Regions from separate parts of the Homo sapiens genome. Here region 1 is linked to region 2. Evidence: promoter capture Hi-C in human tissues and cell types (Jung and others, 2019). All regions are on one chromosome and are shown on one strand. Each heading gives the region's core, a stretch centred on a gene start or on the middle of the fragment in contact. The rest is flanking DNA. Distances are from core to core; before and after follow the strand shown. Region 1 has its middle 22 kb from the start of SERINC3. Region 2 holds the start of YWHAB (tyrosine 3-monooxygenase/tryptophan 5-monooxygenase activation protein beta).

Region 1 (5,925 bases), core at 22-2,521, 340 kb after region 2:
ATGAACATAAATTGAGCACCCATTGTATGTTAGGATGTACAGAGGTCCAAGGAAGGACTCCTGTCCTCAACAAGCTAAGAGTTTAGTAGCAGACACAAAATAAACACAAAGGTAATTATGGAGGAGGACTATTTATGAGAAATGTTATAAAAAGAAAAGTTTGAAGTGCTATGTGATTTGGAAAAAGAAATAACATCAGGACAAATTCCATTACATTGAACTCCCTGAGACATTCCAAACTTCACATTATTTAAAATCAGTGAGGGGCCTGGGTGCAGTGGCTCATATCTGTAATCCCAGCACTTTGGGACGCTGAGACGGGTGGAATTACCTGAGGTCAGGAGCTCGAGACCAACCTGGTCAACATGGTGAAACCCCGTTTCTACTAAAAATACAAAAATTAGCCGGGAGTGGTGGTGCATGCCTGTAGTCCCAGCTACCCGGGGGGCTGAGGCAGGAGAATCGCCTGAACTGGGAAGGTAGAGGCTACAGTGATCCAAGATTGTACCATTGCACTCCAGCATAAGCAACAAAGTAAGACTCTGTCTCAAAAAAAAAAGAACTCAAAAAAACAAAAAATATACTAGAGAAGATGTCTCTGGAAAGAAGTTCACCAGGGCACAATTTATAATGACCAACAATAAGGCCTGGTGATATTCATTTCAATTGATACACAGTAACCCATACATAACAACTTAAGAAACAAAGTAGAAGTTCTCTCCTTGATGGAATCAGAACTAATAATGGTATAACTCATTTTTTAAAAAATACAGTTAAAGAGAGGAATCATTAAAAATGCATGTTTATTTTCCAAATACTGGCTAAGGGATGAAAGCCTCTCCTCTCCTCTCTCCTCTCCTTCTCTTCTCTGAGACAGGGTCTCTCCCTGTCACCCATGCTGGACTGCAATGGCATGATCATGGCTCACTGCAGCCTCAACCTCCCTGGGCTCAGGTGATTCTCCCACCTCAGCCTCCGAGTAGTTGGGAGTACAGGCATGCACCACCACAACCTGCTAATTTTTGTATTTTTTGTAGAGACAGGGTTTTGCTGTATTTCCCAGGCTTGTGTCTCGAACTCCTGGACTCAAGTAATCCACCTGCCTCAGCCTCCCAAAGTGCTGGGATTATAGACATGAGCCACTGTGCCCAGTGAAGGCCTTTTCTTGAGAGTAAGTTCAAGCAATTAAAGTTTCTGCATGAACTACACTCATGATGTACATCTATGATTTTCAGTTTTTACTGGAATGATACTTGTGAAGTGTTCTGAAGGCAGAAACATATATGTATATATATGTTTTGGAGACAGGGTCTTACTCTGTGTCCCAGGCTGGAGTAAGTACAGTGGCGTGATGATAGTTCACTGTAACTTCAAACTCCTGGGCTTAAGTGATCCTCCCACTTCAGCCTCCCAAGTAGCTAGGACTACAGGGACACACCACCACATCTGGCTAATTTTCTTTTTGTAGAGACGGGGTCTCACTGTTGCCCAGATTGGTCTCAAACTCCTGGCCTCAAGTAATCTTCCTGCCTCAGCCTCCCAGTGCTAGGATTACAGGTGAGAGTTACCCTATCTGTCAGAATCTCCATATTTTTATAATTTTTTTCTTCAATCTTTTCAGAGGTCTCTTCCACCCCTAATTTGACAAAAATATTTTTTCTTAGCCATTTGCCTTTATCAGGTAAGCACATTCAACTTATTTTTCATAAAAGCAGTATCTTTTTTCCTTTTTCCCTTTACATTTCATTGGTTAACATAATATTTAATTATTTTGTAATCACAATAATAAAACTAAACAGGCTGGGGAACAAACCCAGTTGATTCTTATTGATTGTCACTGTTAGCAACACATTATGAACAAATATTTATAATGCAGGCCGGGCATTGCAGGCGCAGTGGCTCACACCTGTAACCCCAGCACTTTGGGAGGCCAAGGTGGGTGGATCACCTGAGGTCAGGAGTTCGAGACTGGCCTGGCCAACATGGCAAAACCCTGTCTCTACTAAAAATACAAAAATTAGCTGGGCATGGTGGGGCACGCCTGTAATCCTAGCTACTCCAGAAGCTGAGGCAGGGGAATTGCTTGAACCCAGGAGGTGGAGGTTGTAGTGAACCAAGATTGTGCCACCGTACTCCAGCTCAGGCCACAGAGCAAGATTCCATCTCAAAAAAAAAAAAAAAAAAAAAAAAAAAAGAAAGAAGGAAGGAAAGAAAGAAAGAAAAGAAAAGAAAAGAAAGAGGAAAGTCAATGTAAAAACTGCAATTTTCTCCAAATACAGGGTATAGCTGACATTGTTGGCCGCCTCCTGTGGTGGGCACTGCCCACTTCCAGGCTTGTATCTATTTCTCATTCTTCCACAGCTGCAGAATCCCTGTTTTGGGGAATGGCAATGTGTACAGCTAAGAAACTGCATTTACCAGCCTTCTTCACAAGTAAGAATGGACAATGAGATGTAAACTGAACATGGTGGTTGGGACTTAGGGTACTTTAAAGGGTGTCCTCTGCCCTCCCCTTTCCTACTTCTTCCTGCCTCAAAGACCGTTTGGCTAGAGAGCCAGAGCCAACACGTGCGACCACTTGGTGACTGCAAGCTGTGTGATAAGCATGGTGAAACAGAAAGAGAGAAAGATCTAGGCTGCCTGATGGCACTGTGGAACTGCCATGCCAGGAACAGACTATCTACTTTGGACTTAATATTTTTTGAGAGAAAAATAACCTGTCTTCTTTAAAGCACTGTTATCAGCAGCCAACACAATTCCTCTTCGACCAATCTACTCAGCGTCCATTCACCTACTCATAGAAAAAAAAAAATTTTCCTAACAGAAACACAATTCTGTTTCTGAATGGTCTAGAGATAATTTCATCCCTCTTGTAAATGGCTTGTTCAAGAACCAGGCCTAAGCCCATCAGGGCATCACATTGCCCTACTAACAAAAATTGGCTCAGGAATGAGCATATGACCCAGTCCAGGCCAATGAGATTCTAGGGTAGTTCTCTGGAGGCTTCTGAGAAAAATTCTCACTCTAAGGAACAATCTTTTTTTTTTTTTTTTTTGAGGCGGAGTTTTGCTCTTGTTGCCCAGGTCGGAGTGCAGTGGTGTGACCTCAGCTCACTGCAACCTCCACCTCCCAGGTTCAAGCGATTCTCCTGCCTCAGCCTCCCGAGTAGCTGGGACTACAGGCGTCTACCATCACACACGGCTAATTTTTTGTATTTTTAGTAGAGACGGGGTTTCACCATGTTGGTCAGGCTGGTCTCGAATTCCTGACCTCAGGTGATCCACCCGCCTCGGCTTCCCACAGTGCTGGGATTACAGGTATTTTACGGGTGTAAGCCACCGCGCCCAGCCAAGACAATCTTTCTATTCCTTAGGTGGGTGCCATACATAAATCTGGGGCCTAGGCCTACTGCAGCTATTTTGCTGCTAGCCTGAGGAAGAAGCCAATACTCTAGGGAGGGCACAACCAAGAAAATCTTAGGGAAAGAAGCCTGTGACAGTAGATTAAGTGAACCTTGAAGTCTGTCCAGGACAAGTTTGGCTGTATCAGCCAAAACATATACACGTTGCAGAGGTCATCTCAGAAGCAATGGAGTAGGTGCTGAGAGTTATGCAAATATTTTGAGAAGGCCAAAGTCAGTCAGGTCTTCCCAGTGGGCATGCAAGACAGGGCATGCGGTCTTCAAAATATTTCTGTGCCCTTTCTGTACGAGGCCTGATAAAGAACTTACTATAGAGTAAGTTTGCAAATATTGAGTTATTTTAGAAGTGCTTTTTGAACAGGTTTTTGCAAAAAAAAAAAAAGTTTACTGTATAAGTGTGCACGTATCAAAGGCTTTACAGTAATAAACATAACAGCTGACATTTACATGTTAAGTTCTATCTGCCAAGACTGTGCTGAGCCCTTTATTTCATGCAATCCTCACAAGAAACAAGGAACTCTCATAATATCCACTTTACAAGTGAGGAAGCTCTGAAGCTTAGAAAGGTTAAGTATATTGTGCAGTAAGTAGAAAGTGCCTGGGCCAAGATGTGAATTCATGTCCAAAGGACTCTAGGGCCTCATTCCTAACCACAACTTTGTACTGCTTCCTTATGAATACATAAAAGCACAGCGACCATTTCTCTGAGAGTGCACTTCTTCAAAATATTCTGTTCTCCTAACCTTCCTAAGTATACTATACTTATCACACCACAAGTCCCAATTTTTTGGTTTATAAAATATAGCTGCTGGGCACAGTGGCTCACGCCTGTAATCCCAGCACTTTGGGAGGGTGAGGTGGGCCTATCACTTGAGGTCAGGAGTTCGAGACCAGTCTGGCCAACGTGGTGAAACCCTGTCTCTACTAAAAATACAAAAATTAGCTGGGTATTGTGGCGCATGCCTGTAGTCCCAGATACTGGGGAGGCTGAGGCAGGAGAATTGCTTGAACCCAGGAGGCGGAGGCTGAGGCTGCAGTGAGCCAAGATTACGCCACTGCACTCCAGCCTGGGAGACAGAGCTAGACTCCATCTCGAAAAAAATATTATAAAAGAAATTAAAAAAAAATATGGCCACTATATTTAATATGTACCATATATAACATGCAGAGATCATCAAAAACCAATGAAAGTTAAGCCTTATGCACATAAGAAAACAATAGAATTATTTTATGCTTAACTGACACTGAAAATCAAGATTAAACCATCAGCTTTTTCTTTTTTTTTTTAAGTTTCATTCTGGTGATTAGCAGAAACACGGAGTAGGTAGGTTTGCAAAATCAGGACTGGGAGAAAGGAAGATAACTCACATTCATTAAGCCCCTTCGAGTGGCCAAGCTTTATAACAATTAACTCTCACATGACTTCATGAGACATTTTACAGATAAGGGAACCTAGACTCAGAGACCTTGCCCAAGGTTACCCTGATCTCCCTGAAACCCAAGTTCTTGTTCTTCTCATCATACAACTCTGCATTCCTATGAGTTCTAGCAATTTCTAAGGATTGGCTAACAGAGAACAATGACCCTGAGGCCACAGGAAAGCTCCGTAAGTTATTAGCCTCCCCGGAAATATCATTTTCATTTTCAGTTGCTTTCAATCTTGGTGTCTTTGGCTTTAATAAATTACAAATAAGAAAATAAGCTATACTTGGCCGGGAGTGGTGGCTTATGCCTATAATCCCAGCACTTTGGGAAGCCGAGGGGGGTGGATCATTTGAGGTCAAGAGTTCAAGACCAGCCTGACCAACATGGTGAAACTCTGTCTCTACTAAAAATGCAAAAATTAGCCGGGCATGGTGGCACACCTCTGTAGTCCCAGCTACTCGGGAGGCTGAGGCAGGAGAATCGCTTGAACCTGGGAGGCGAGGCTGCAGTGAGCCGTGATCCATTGCACTCCAGCCTGAGTAACAAGAGCAAAACCCCGTCTCAAAAAAAAAAAAAAAGAACCTAAAGAACCTACACTTAAAAATCTAATGCTTCAAATTTTACTTAAAAGCTACAAGAAAACAGGTATTATGTTTTATATAAGCCAATTAAAAATAATACATATTTATTTTCTTAGGTAGTAAAATATAATCAATAAGCAGCAGAATGTTAAGTTTTGGTACAAATATTCAAATAAAAACACAGTCTACCAGCCAGGCCAACATACAGAGATCCCGTATCCACAAAAAATTTTAAAATTAGCTGGATGTGGTGGCACACACCTGTAGTCCCAGCTACTCAAGAGGCTGAGGTGAGAGGATCACTTGAGTCCCAGAGTTTGAAGTGGCAATGAACTATGGTTGCACCACAGTAACTCCAGCCTGGGTGACAGAATGAGACCCAGTCTCAAAAACAAAACAAAACAAAAAAACCCATAGTCTAGTCTTAAAAGCACACAGCTGATGGAGAATCACTTAAAAAATAAATCAAAGTCTGTATTTCCTAGTCCTTCATTGCCG
Region 2 (6,672 bases), core at 1-2,500:
GATTTTATGTTCATAGCATCATCTTGCCAAATTCCATCTCCCACACAGGGCAAGCAAAATCAGGACCTGATGCTATCTAGCCTTACCAAAGAGAAATGCAATGAAGGCAACGACAAGAAACATGTATTTTACAGAAAGGTTGGCAAATTGCTTACCAAGGCTGCCACCTCTGAAAACCCCATTATATGGGAGTTCTCCATTTGCGGCAAAGATGCACTCACCTTCCCACCTCTTCTTCCCTCCGCTCCCCACCCCCCGACCAGGAAGCCACCGGGCAAATTTCAGACCGAAAAACGTGCTAACACACAATATGGGGGAATTTGGGGTAAAGACACAAAAGAATCTGGCATTAAATGACGGTAAATACTGTGAGAAAATACTCCGATTCTCACCCCCTGATATTTTTTCCTGGGGATCCGGCCTGACTCAGTAACCGGCTCCAACAAACAGATTTTCTTGATTCAAACCCAATTCCCTTCCTAGGGAATCTTGGGTCCTGCCAGGCTCCATAACCAGTGAAGGATGATGAAATGGTTTTACTGCAAAATGGGAGGGGGTTCCCCCACTGCTGTCTCCCAAGGTTAAACCCCTTACTCATCCAGGAGGAGCCAAACACGGGGACTGGGGCTAGAAAACTCATCCGCGTTTGATTAAATTTTAATTTCTGGAAACCAGAAAGCACGGAGCAGAGGTGACAGGGCTGAAGGGGACGTTCTTGCCGACCAAGACGCAGGGAGGGGTCGCGTGGGGCCCGAAGCAGATAGTGAGGGAGGGTCCGGGATCCCCGGCTCCGCTGTCCCTTACGGCACAGTACGGAGTTGCACCCCGCCCGGCCGGCAGGACCTCAGGCGGCCCGAGCCTCTCCAAGAGGTAAAGGGCCCGGCCCCGGAAACAGGGAGGGGCCGCTGCGAGGTCTGGCCTCGCCGCCGGCGGCCGCGCGGAGCGAAAGAGGCAGCGCGCCGCTACCCCACGGGGCCCACCCACTGGGCCGCCGTCGTCGCAGCAGCCAGAGAGGGGCTTCGAGTTTGGGCCCCCGGGGGCCCCGGTCGGACCCCGCGCCGCACTCACCGTGGGAGGGCTGCAGGGAACAAAGACCCTTCCGAGCGAAGCTCCGAGCGAGATGACCTCTTCCTTCCTAAGCCCACTACTCAGGCGGCGGCAGCGGTGCCTGCAGTGGCTGCAGCGGCGGCGGCGGCGGCGACTACCCCGGCTCCGGAATCGGCGGCGGCGGTGGCGGTAGCTCCACTTCCGCTCCGATCGCCACTTCCGCTCCGGTCCTGGCCGCGCCCCGCCCCAAACCGTGTTCTCATTGGGCAAGCGAGGCACGGGGTTGCCACGGCCCCACGGGAGGGGCGCAGACGGAAGGGAGGAGGAAGAAGAGCGAAAGGCAGGGTTGCAGGGGCCGGGGCAGGGCGGATGGCCGGGGGAGGGACCCAGGAGGAGGTGGGCGGAGAAGAAGGAAATGGGGCGGGGGAGCGGGAAAAGGAGGTGGGAGGAGAGAGGGCGGAGCTGGGGGTGGTCAAGATACGGGCTGTGTGGGAATAAGGAGGACTAGGAGTGTGGTCTGGATGGGGATTGCCCTTTCTGCTGGGACTGGAAACGCGCCAGGGCCAGTCCCGGAGATTCGAGGTTTAGCAGTTCCCCCTCCACCCCGAAAGTAATCCTCACTGGGTCGGAGGCCGATGTCAGTCCTCTTACTGTGTGCTTTGGTAATGCTGGAGCCAGGGAAGAACAGAAATTGCTCATCCCTCAATGTTCATTTAATCCTTTCAATCCTTCAGGGTACTTACCTTTTCCTTCTTTGGTAGACTGAAGAGGCCACGTGAAGTGCCAGGAATCCAATGCACAAACGTCTTTTTAAAAAACCTGTGTAGGGTCGAGCGCAGTGGTTCGCGCCTGTAATCTCAGCACTTTGGGAAGCTGAGGTGAGAGGATTGCTTGAGGCCGGGAGTTGTAGGCTGCAGTGAGCTATGGTCATGCCACTGCACTCCAACCTGGGAGACAGAGTGAGACCCTGTCTCCAAAAAAAACCCACAAAAATCTGTGTACATGATTTCTTCTTTAAGATGCCCCCTCGTTGAGGAAGTTCAGGGAAGGAAACAGGCCTCCATGGCTCCCCTCCCCTCCATGACTGCTCTCACAATTACCAACATTCTACTCCTCTGAAGGTAGTTGATTTTGTTTTGTTTTGTTTTGTTTTGTTTTCTGTTTTTGAGACAGAGTCTCTTTCTGTCGCCCAGGCAGTGTCACAATCTTGGCTCACTGCAATCTCTGCCTCCCAGGTTCAAGCAATTCTCCTGCCTCAGCCTCCTGAGTAGCTGGGATAACAGGTGCATGCCACCACTCTCGGCTAGTTTTTGTATTTTTAGTAGACACGGGGCTTCGCCATATTGGCCGGGCTGGTCTCAAACTCCTGACCTCAGGTGATCCACCCGCCTCAGCCTCCCAAAGTGCTGGGATTACAGACATGAACCACCTCGACCGGCTTCAAGGTAGTTGATTTTTAAACTCAGTCCTTCAAAATGCCTCTCGCCTTCCCTCTCTCCTGTTCATTTATTCTTTCAACAAATGTTGAACAGGCTTTTTGCTTAGTGCTGGAGACACAGCAATGAACAAGGCAGGTGGGGCCCTGCTGTCTTGGAGTTTGCAGTCGGGTAGGAGAAAAAGCCAAGTAAATAGGCCTTTGCCGTCTTGCCTTTACCCTTACTTAGCTAAATGACAGACTTCTAATTCACCATTTGGTCTCAGCCTCGCCCGTCAACTGCCAAGTGATCTTTTAAAAATACCATTCTAATCGTGTCCTGTTCTTGCTTAAATTATTTAGTGTGCACTCAGACCTAGATGACAATATATAAGTTCCTTGAGTGTGACAATCAGGGTTCTCCAAAAGCTGCCCTTATCCTTTAGCTGCTATTTCTCCCCCATCGTAAATACCCCAATTCAATTGGATGATTCCTTACCCTCCCAATATGCCATCTCCAGTATTTCTAAGCAGTTTGACTTAGTTGCCAACACTTTTTTAAACTGAAAAGTTTCTGTGTGAACAGAAATCTGCCTCTCTGCCTTGTCTGGTAACACTGTGTCCACATTTCTGTGTGGCAACAATTGGCTGAAGCCAAGGAGTGGCTGCCTGTTCTAGACTGGGCATGGACTTTCCCAAATGCCAGGGACCCTTCTCGACCTGAGTCTGCTTTTGTCACTTATGTTATCTGTCATGTAGGCATGTGTGCCAGTGACCCCTGTACTGTGCCACCTTTTAAGTTGAACAAGATTGAGAACGTGTTGTGTAACGTAAACAGCATGGTTTTGGGTCAAAACCATTGGATTTGAATCCTGGAGAGGTTAGTGCAAAAACTTCCCCATGAGGATCGTCTTTGGCAGACCCTAGACCAGTAATCTAGAGACTACTCAGGCTAAGTAACTTTTAATGTCACAAGACTGTGCCTTATGCCGTCATCCAGAAAATAGCCTAATGGACCAGAGGGCTAATAATGATTATACCACAAATGACATCAACAGTGCATTGAGGGAACAGAAGTGCCCTTTGTCAGGCATTCCTAGGTGCCTGTTAAAGGGTTCAATGGATTAGCTTATTTCACCATCTCTGCATTCTAGGCCAAGCGTCAGCAAACCACAGCTATGAACTGACAGCGATACAGATAAATGTTAAAATACAATGTGGTAGGTGCAACCATAGAAATAAATATATGTGCAGGGTATTATGGGAGCTTGGGAGAAGAGCACCTAACCCATCTTGGGAATATGATGGGAGAGCAGGAAAGATTTCCTTAAAGAAGTGATACTAGAGCCTTATATACTGCAGTGAATCTTTTTTCAAATTATAGACTTAATTTTTAAAAATGTTTTTGTAGAGACAGAGTCTCATTATGTTGCCCAGGCTGGGCTCAAACTCCTGGCCTCAAGTGATTCTCCTGCCATGGCCTCCCAAAGTGCTGGGATTACAGGTGTGAGCCACTGTGCCTGGCCAATAGACTTAATTTTTTAGAACAGTTTTAGGTTTACAGAAAAATTGACCAGATATTACAGAGTTCCCACATTCCCTCTCCCTCCTCCACACAATTTCCCCTATTATTAACATCTTGTATTAGAGTGGTACATTTGTTGCAATTGATGAGCCAGTATTAATACATCATTATTAACTAAAGTCCGTAGTTTACATTGGGGTTCATTCTTTATGTTGTACATAGTTCTATAGGTTTTGACACATGCATAATGTCATGTATATAAATAAAAGTTTTACTGTCCTAAAAATCTTTGCTTCAACTCTTCATCCCTCACTCCCTCCCCTCACCCCAACCTTTGGCAACCGCAGACCTTTTACACTATAGTTTTACCTTTTCTAGAATGTCATATAGTTACATCATACAATATGTTGCTCGCTTTCTTTCTTTCTTTCTTTCTTTCTTTCCTTCCTTCTTTTTTTTTTTTTTTGACAGGGTGTCACTCTGTCACCCAGGCTGGAGTGCAGTAGTGCAATCACAGCTCACTGCAGCCTCGACCTCCTGGGTTCAAGTGATTCTCCCACCTCAGCCTCCCTAGTAGCTGGGACTACAGGCGTGTGCCACCACACCCAGCTAATTTTTGTATTTTTTATAGAGATGGGGTTTTGCCATGTTGCCCAGGCTGGTCTTGAACACCCAGGCTCAAGCAATCCTCTTGCCTTGGCCTCCTAAAGTGCTGGGTAATAAAGTGTGAGCCATTGTACCCAGCACATATGTCGCCTTTTCTGACTGGATTGTTTTATTAAGTAATGTGATTTAAGTTTCCTTCATGTCTTTTTATGATTTGATAACTTATTTCTTTTGATTGCTTAAAAAATCCCCTTGTATGAATCTACCATATTGTGTTTATGCATGAACTTATTCTTTTTTTTTTTCCAGAGAGAGTCTCACTCTGTTGCTCAGGCTGGAGTGCAGTGGCATGATCTCAGCTCACTGCAACCTCCGCCTCCCAGGTTCAAGTGAGTCTTGCCTCAGCCTCTCAAGTAGCTGAGATTATTGGTGTGTGCCACCATGCCTAGCTAATTTTTTATTTTTAATAGAGACAGGGTTTTGCCATGTTGGCCAGGCTGGTCTCAAACTCCTGACCTTAGGTGATCTGCCTGTCTCGGCCTCCCAAAGTGCTGGGATTACGGGTGTGAGCCACCACACCTGGCCCATTAACCTATTCTTAAGGATTGACTTGTATCCTCCAGAAAGATATGCTGAAGCTTTCACCCTTGGAATCTGTGTATGTGACCTTATTTGGAAAAGGGCTTTTGCAGTATAATCAATTAAAATGAGGTCATTCGAGTGGGTCCTAATCCAACGTGGCTGGTGCCCTAAAGAAGGAGGAAAATGCCATCTGAAGACAGGACACACATGGGAAACAACACATGACAATGGAGGCCGAGACTGGAGTGATGAGCTGTGAGCCAGGGAACACTAAGGATTGCTGGGCAGCACCAGAAGCCAGGAAGAGGCATGGAAGGATTCTACCCAGAGTCTCAAAGGGAGCAAGACTCTGCTGTCACACTGATTTTAGACTTCTAGCCTCCAGAATGGTGAGAGAATATGTTTTTGTGGTTTTAAGCCACCCAGTTTGTGGCCCTTTGTTATGGCAGGCTTAGGGAACTAATAGACCTACTGAGAGCTATCTTGATCCAGCTGTTGACAATTATGAAGAAAACCATGATAAACATCTGTGTGCAGGTTTTTGTTTGGGCATAAGTTTTCAACTTGTTTGAGTAAATACCTAAGAGTGTGACTGTTAGATTATACGTTAAGACAATGTTTAGCTTTGTTAGAAACTAGTAAACTGGCCAGGTGTGGTGGCGCGTGCCTGTAGTCCCAGCTACTCAGGAGGCTGAGGCAGGAGGATCGCTTGAGGCCAGGAGTTCTGGGCTGCAGTGCACTATGTTGCCTGGGCGTCTGCGCTAAGTTCAGCATCAATATGATGACCTCCCGGGAGCAGGGAACCACCAGATTGCCTAAGAAGGGGTAAACTGGCCAAGGTTGGAAACAGAGCAGGTCAAAACTCCCGTGCTGATCAGTAGTGGGATGGTGCCTGTGAATAGCCACTGTACTCCAGCCTGGGCAACACAGCAAGACCCCATCCCTAAAAAAACATTAAAAATAAAAATAGGCTGCCGGGCACGGTGGCTCACGCCTGTAATCCCAGCACTTTGGGAGGCCGAGGCAGGTGGATCACGAGGTCAAAAGATCGAGAACATCCTGGCCAACATGGTGAAACCCCATCTCTACTAAAAATACAAAAATTTGCGGGGTGTGGTGGCGCATGCCTGTAGTCCCAGCTACTTGGGAGGCTGAGGCAAGAGAATCACTCGAACCCGGGAGGCAGAGGTTGAAGTGAGCCAAGAATGTGCCACTGCACTCCAGCCTGGCGACAGAGTGAGACTCCATCTCAGAGAAAAAAAAAAAAAAAGGCCAGGCACAGTGGTTCATGCCTGTAATCCCAGCACTTCAGGAGGCCGAGATCGGTGGATCACCTGAGATCAGGAGTTCAAGACAAGCCTGGCCAACATAGTAAATGAAACCCTGTCTCTACTAAAAAAACAAACAAACAAACAAAAAACAAAAAAAATACAAAAATTAGCCACGCTTGGTGGCGGGTGCCTGTAATCCCAGCTATTTGGCAGTCTGAGGCAGGAGA

What was found. Contacts are between HindIII fragments. The study calls those that stand out against the background at their distance.
Region 1: a fragment that was not itself captured here is called in contact with the fragment with the promoter of YWHAB in region 2 in 1 of the 25 tissues and cell types used here (dorsolateral prefrontal cortex).

Annotation. Positions count from the first base shown.
Region 1 is chr20:44,541,195-44,547,119 of GRCh38, reverse strand. It overlaps a transcript of PKIG not described here. Among named protein-coding and RNA genes, the nearest start is that of SERINC3, 22 kb to the right of the region's middle. The HindIII fragment of the contact is 6,255 bases long and covers 1-4,398 here.
Region 2 is chr20:44,880,283-44,886,954 of GRCh38, reverse strand. It overlaps YWHAB (tyrosine 3-monooxygenase/tryptophan 5-monooxygenase activation protein beta), which reads right to left and starts at 1,250. Exons shown (of 6, transcript NM_139323.4): 1 at 1,069-1,250. RefSeq lists silencers at 957-1,506, 1,567-1,626 and an enhancer at 904-1,520. The HindIII fragment of the contact is 9,752 bases long and covers 1-6,672 here.